Linked DNA regions of Homo sapiens: region 1 is linked to region 2. Evidence: promoter capture Hi-C in 16 types of primary human blood cells and fetal thymus (Javierre and others, 2016). All regions are on one chromosome and are shown on one strand. The core of a region is centred on a gene start or on the middle of the fragment in contact, and the rest is flanking DNA. Distances in the headings are between cores, read along the strand shown.

Region 1 (3,362 bases), core at 452-2,951, 320 kb after region 2:
TGTCAGATAGCTGGCTGTTCCCCCTGGGAAATGACGTGATATTTGCCACCCAACTTTGGTAACTGTTTGGCAGATTAGGCAATCAGCAACAGCTGTAGCCTGGTTAGTATTGGTACAGGGAAGTTTACATTTTTGGGCCTGTGCATAGCCTCCATATCTGTTGCCATGGTATTTTGCACACAAGTCCATTGAGCAAGCACTGGAGTGCCCGTGGAGAGAGGCTTACTGTCATGTATATAATGTGTATAACTTCTCCCATTTCTTCTGAAATGGATGCCTTTTGGTCTGCATTGACATATTTCATACGTATTTTTACCCTCTGAGAGTTCTATTCATAGACCTTTGTTTTTGACCTCCTTGCTGCTAGTCTTCTAGTTCTGTTTCTTCCAAGTGCCTGACCATCTAGCTAACAAATTAGCAACTCTGTTAACTAGTGAGGATCTTTACTTCTAGCCAACTCTAAATCCATACAAGAACAGTCATACATACTGACTGAAGTTCTATCTATTGAGAAGATTTACCTTCACCACTCTCCTTGTGATTGGGGCTATGATTCTGTAGCCATCCACTTCGGGGTAGTACCAGCATATCATGCAGAACCATCTGTAAATCAGGGCCAAGAGTATTTTCCCCTCATATTATTTCATCATAAGGAGTTCCCCATGAAGCTATTGATGTAGAACAAGGAGGAGACATTATAGTGGGAGTAGGTATTGAATTCTGAGCCACTTGTTTATTCAGTTTTTGCCTTTTGGACTTTGTGAAGACAGATCTTTTATAAAACACTTGATGAAGGATACTTGTTGCTGGTGCTCAATATTATGGTTGGTGTGTCAGATAACATTTGGACAGCTCTGAATTTGTAGACATTAGTTTCGTAGATAGATATTAATCTCTATCTGGGACTAGTAAGGAACTAGGAGCTGTTTTTCAAAAGGAGAATGGTTATTTGCATGAGAGGGTGTGGCTTTGCTCCAAGACCCTAGCATTCTGCTGTGTGATTGTCCCAATTAGGTTGCCACAGGCTCCTTACAGCATCATTATTTGCTGTGGACTTCTAGTGTCAGTGTCATTGAAAGTGCTCTTAAGGTAAAAGTGGCAGAGCATCTTGCAGTACAGTCTGGTCTTGTTGCAGAGTTTCTTGTTTTGCACCTTACTCAAAATTGGCAACCTTATATGTTTCTTGATACTTGGATTAGAGCACACATTCAAGTATGCTAAATATTGGCTCCCAAATCCAAGTAGGCCCACTAAGTACTGTGGCTTTTGTTTCTGTGGTTGGTGTTACAAGTTGGAGCAACTTGTCTTTCAGTCTGGAGGGAATATCCTGACATGACCAGACCTCTGGACCTCTGAAACTTAACCATGGTTGCAGAATCTTGAGTTTTTCTGGGGACTCTTATTCTCTGGTTTGCACCTTACTCAGGCATTTAATTTCCTTGCTGTTTCCTTTTCATCTGGACCAATCAGCGTGCTGTCATGATGTAGTGGACCATTATGTTGATCTGCAGGATGTTAGGATGATCAGGATTTCTAGAATGTGAGATGTGGTCTTAGGGAAAGATTGCAAAGATTTATTATTGTTCCTGCCAGGTAAAAGTGGACTTTTTGTATAGTCCTTAAAAGTAAAGATAGAAAAATATTGGATAGAACTGTAACTACCTACCAGATATCAGGGGATTTGTTGATTTGCTTTAATAAAGATACCTCATTTGGAAAAGCAGCTGCAATGGAAGTCGCCACCTGATAGTTTACCATCCACAGTCATTCTTCAAGATTCATTTACAACAGTCCAGTAAAGGGGACGAGGTCATTTGATTACCTCTGTATCTTTTAAGTCTCTCTCTCTTTTTTTTTTTTTTTCCAATACAGGGTCTTGCTCTGTCACTCAGGCTGGAGTACAGTGGTGTGATTTTGGCTTACTGTAGCCTTGCCGTCCTGGGCTCAAGTGATTTTCCCACCTCAAGGCTTCTGAGTAGCTGGGATGACAAGTGCATGCCATCACGCCTGGCTGTTATTTTTTAGTAGAGATGAGATCTTGCTATGTTGACCAGGATGGTCTCAGACGTTTAGGCTCAAACGAACCTCCATCCTCAGTCTCACAAAGTGCTAGGATTATAGGTATGAAGGCACTGTGCCCAACCTCAAATCTTTTACAGTGGCATTAATCTAAAAAATTTCTTCAGGAATGTAGCATTGCTTTAGTTTAATATCTTTGTAGAGAAGGAAAGTTCTAGGGGCTTATACTTCATGTTTTCTATATTACTGGCCCACAGAGAAGAGCAGAGAGCTAATCTGGGGATTGTTTTCAGTTGCCTGTTTTATATTATGCATTCAGGAACTGGGGAAGTAACTATTACACAATAAGGATTTACAGACCCATAGAACTCTCTGAGACAGCTTTGGGCTGAAACTTTATTAATCGCTTGACCATCCTACGTGCCCTCTTTCTTGGACCACAGTGATGTTTTAGGTCAGTTCAGTGCCATGTTTTTGTAATGCCTGAAAGATCTTTTCCCCCATGCACAGTCACTGTAGTGAATGCCCATAGGTCTTTCTGAGGGAAGGTTTGGAGTATGATTTACAGTACCAACTATAGTTGGGGTATCATAGGATCCTTTCTCAAGGGGAGTCATCCTCCCTTTCAATAAAAAGCTCTGATCTGTGAACAGATTAATTAGGTCTAGAAGTTTTCATTCTCCCTCTTTTTTTTTTTTTTTTTTTTAGCAATTCAAGTCATGTTTTTGTCTACAAGTTTTTCCAGTATTGTATAGATAAATAATAATTTACTAGGCTGCCTTGAGTATACTAGACAAGAGTAGAAACCATTCATGGGTGAACTGGGGACAGGATATAAAGATGCAATTACATTATAGACTTATTTCTCTGGGAGAATAGTACTTAGCATTTTTGTGGTCTAACTTCAGTAATTGTTGTAATATTAAATAATCATGGCTAACATTTATCGAATATTGCTGATGGCGAAGCTGGGCCCAGAATCCAGATGTGTGACTATAAGGCCTGTGTTTTTAGTTGCTATTGCTGGATTATGGTGACAACAGCAACAAAAACAATGCATCTGCTAAGCTGAACTAAATCCTCATATACCCCAGTAATGGTAATTGTCTAAATATATTCTTATGGATGGAGGTATTTGAGTGCCTACTCTGTGCTTAACATTGTACTGGATGAATAGGAAAAATGACAGATGATTTTAGTTGTCCTTAATTTTTGGTGATATATATAAGAACATGTGTTACTGTCTGGTTCTGAATTGTCTTTTCCAGAATAGTTAGTTGAGGTTTCATTTAAAAAATTAAAAAATTTTCATTGATAAATAATTGTATATATTTATGAGGTAT
Region 2 (3,554 bases), core at 501-3,000:
GGCTCATGCCTGTAATCCCAGCACTTTGGGAGGCCGAGGCGGGCAGGTTGCTTGAGCCCAGGAATTCAAGACCAACCTGGGAAACATAGCAAGACCCTGTCTCAACAAAAAAGTAAAAAAATTAGCTGGGGGCGCGATGGGGTGGCTCATGCCTGTAATCCCAACACTTTGGAAGGCTGAGGCAGGCGGATTGCTTGAGCCCAGGAGTTGGAGACCAGCCTGGGCAACATGGTGAAACCCTGGCTCTATAAAGAATACAAAAATTAGTCGGGCCCAGTGGCGTGTGCCTGTGATCCCAGCTACTCGGGAGGCTGAGGTGGAAGGATCACCTGAGCCAGGGAGGTGGAGGTTGCAGTGAGTCATGTTGTTTGCGCCACTGCACTCCAGCCTGGGCAATGGAGTGAAACCCTGTCCAAAAAATAAAAAAATAAAGCTGTGGCAGAATGTGGAGATTCTTGGAAGCTGGAAGCTCTCATGGGGCATTTGGAAACCTCACATTGTAAATAACGGAGTCTTTTTATCAGTTTGGCTTCCTTAGTTTTAGGAAACAAGAAATAATTATGGCTAACTCAAGTAAAAAGAGAAAGAGAAGAGAAAAAAGACGTGGAGATAGAGAGAGAGGGAGAGAGAGGAAAAGACGAAAGGAAGGAAGGGGGAAAGGAGAGAGGAAGAGAGAAACAGAGAAACAGACTGATTAGTGTATTGGATAGATTACATAACCAAGTGACCAGTCAGGAACCCAGCAGCTCTGGGGGAGCTCAATGTGATGCATTGATAAACCCGCTCTTAAGAGCACTCGTTTCCAGTTACTTTCTATTCGGTGGGTCTCCAGCCAAGATTCCAGGTCCCAGGAGAATCTGACTGACCTAGTGTTTGCTTCCGCCTTTGCGGTCTGGGTTCTGTGCTTGCAGCTCATTAGAATACAGGGAGCAGAGACAAGCAGGTAGTTTCCCAAAGGAAGGGATGCTGAGTAGATTAAAAAAAAAGTGTAGATTCTTCAGTAAACTATGGGATGGTAACTATGCAAAACCTAAGATTTCCCTTATTCAAATAAATTATCTTTCATATTAGACATCTAAATATGCACTAATTTAGTTAAACCCCTGGGTTAGTTGATCTCATCACACTGAGCTAACATTTTTGTTGCTGTTGTTTGCAGTGACCTGAAGTTTCTTATCTTCACAATTGCTTTCCTCTCAAATAATTCCCAGATTTTAAATTTTTATTTTATTTTTTCTGGAGACGGAGTCTCGCTCTGTCGCCCAGGCTGGAGTGCAGTGGCGCGATCTCAGCTCACTTGCAGCCTCTGCCTCCCGAGTTCAAGCGATTCTCCGGCCTTAGCCTTCCAACCAGCTGGGACTACAGGCGCGCGCCCCCACGCCCGGCTAATTTAATTCCCAGATTGATATCCATTGCTTCTGAGATGGGCCAATTATCCTTCGGAGAAGACTTAGGTCGCCTGGCAGAAAAAGATGAAAGAAATCTAAGAAAACGACGACACTGAGAGAGGAGCCTAGCGAACCAGCAGAGCGACCCCAAGCCGCAATTCCCCCTTCCGTGGATCGATTACGAAGGCTTCCTGGCAGGAGCTCTCCAGGGCTGCCGACGTGAGCCGAACTGCACATTGGGAACTGTAGTTGAGTGGGAAAGCCGAGAGGCGGGGGCCGCACACGCGTACAGGGGCCCCGGTCAACAAAGACGCGCCGTGCGCGCGCGCGCCGGAGAAAAACACGGGAAGACGTGCGCGTGCGCGGCCGCCGCTGGGAGCCACCAGGCGGCGGAGAGGACAGCGACAGGAAGGGAGGGGCCCGAGCCACCGACTGCAGGAGGAGAAGGGGTTGTGCTCCTGGCCGAGGAAGGAGAAAGGGGCGGGGCCGGCGGGCAGCGTGCGGCAGTGCGGAGCTCCTGAGACCGGCGGGCACACGGGGGTCTGTGGCCCCCGCCGTAGCAGTGGCTGCCGCCGTCGCTTGGTTCCCGTCGGTCTGCGGGAGGCGGGTTATGGCGGCGGCGGCAGTGAGAGCTGTGAATGAATTCTCCGGGTGGACGAGGGAAGAAGAAAGGCTCCGGCGGCGCCAGCAACCCGGTGCCTCCCAGGCCTCCGCCCCCTTGCCTGGCCCCCGCCCCTCCCGCCGCCGGGCCGGCCCCTCCGCCCGAGTCGCCGCATAAGCGGAACCTGTACTATTTCTCCTACCCGCTGTTTGTAGGCTTCGCGCTGCTGCGTTTGGTCGCCTTCCACCTGGGGCTCCTCTTCGTGTGGCTCTGCCAGCGCTTCTCCCGCGCCCTCATGGCAGCCAAGAGGAGCTCCGGGGCCGCGCCAGCACCTGCCTCGGCCTCGGCCCCGGCGCCGGTGCCGGGCGGCGAGGCCGAGCGCGTCCGAGTCTTCCACAAACAGGCCTTCGAGTACATCTCCATTGCCCTGCGCATCGATGAGGATGAGAAAGGTAACTAGGGGGCTGGGGGAGGGGGCGGCGGCGCCGGGAAGAAGGCGGTGGGGTCGCCGGGGGAGGGCAACACCTGCGTCCCTTTTCTGCGGGAGGGGACGGTGCACCCCCGGAATTGATATGCCCCGGGAGACTGCTTTCCCGTAGGTCGGAGCCTCATCTTCTAGTATTCTTAAAACCTCTCCCCTTTCAGGGCACTGTAGCTGTCGACTTTGTTTCAGACACCAGCCTTCCCCCACACTTCTGCATGACCCAGGTCACTATGAGACACCCAGACGTGTTGATGACAGTGACATTTGTCCTAGAGTGACCACACTGATCCTTTCTAGCACTGTGAAGAGTGTGCAGCTTCCTCTGAACCAAGGTTTCCAAAAGGTTTTGATATTGAAGAAGCAGTGCCGCCTTACTGGCTTTTAATGAAAGCAGAGTATTGTAGTGTCAGAAAAAAAGAACAAATGGTGACAATTTTGAAAGAAATAGCTGCATATGACTGCAGTTGAATTTGCATCATTTTAATCAAGATAATCATTTTATCAGTACAACGATTCCTGAATACTTTTTCAATGAAGTTATATTTAGCATAAAACTTTTCCCCCTGTTGCTTTGATTTTAATTAAAACAGTATTCCAAAGTAGCCTTTAATTTCCAAGTTGAAATGTTTGATGAATGGATTGCGTAAACTTAAACATACCACTTTACAGTAAAACCTAAAACAACTATGTATGTTTCTGAATGAAAGCAAGGATACTACATCTTTCGGGTTTCTTTTAAGCTAACTTTTTTTTTTTTTTGAGACGGAATCTCGCCCTGTCGCCCAAGCTGGAGTGCAATGGTGCAGTCTCGGCTCACTGCAACCTCCGACTCCCTGGTTCCAGCGATTCTCCTGCCTCAGCCTCCCGAGTAGCTGGGATTACAGGCACGCACCACCACGCCTGGCTAATTTTTGTATTTTTAGTAGAGTAGGGATTTCACCATGTTGGCCAGGATGGTCTCCATCTCCTGACCTCGTGATCGGGTCGCCTCGGCCTCCCAAAGTGCTGGTAATACAGGCATGAGCCACCGCGCCTGGCCTTAAGCTAACATTTTTTATTATATGTGCCAGGCATTGTGCTA

The links. Contacts are between HindIII fragments. The CHiCAGO score rates a contact against its expected background, and 5 or more counts as called.
Region 1: a fragment that was not itself captured here is called in contact with the fragment with the promoter of SPAST in region 2 in 1 of 17 cell types (monocytes); the score reaches 5.1 in monocytes.

What each region holds. Positions count from the first base shown.
Region 1 is chr2:32,384,597-32,387,958 of GRCh38, forward strand. The region is part of intron 3 of BIRC6 (baculoviral IAP repeat containing 6); the gene reads left to right. Among named protein-coding and RNA genes, the nearest start is that of BIRC6, 29 kb to the left of the region's middle. The HindIII fragment of the contact is 4,321 bases long and covers 1-3,362 here.
Region 2 is chr2:32,061,806-32,065,359 of GRCh38, forward strand. It overlaps SPAST (spastin), which reads left to right and starts at 1,751. Exons shown (of 17, transcript NM_014946.4): 1 at 1,751-2,441. The coding sequence starts at 2,027. RefSeq lists enhancers at 1,545-1,614, 1,663-2,463 and silencers at 1,835-1,974, 2,035-2,454, 2,485-2,614. The HindIII fragment of the contact is 15,667 bases long and covers 1-3,554 here.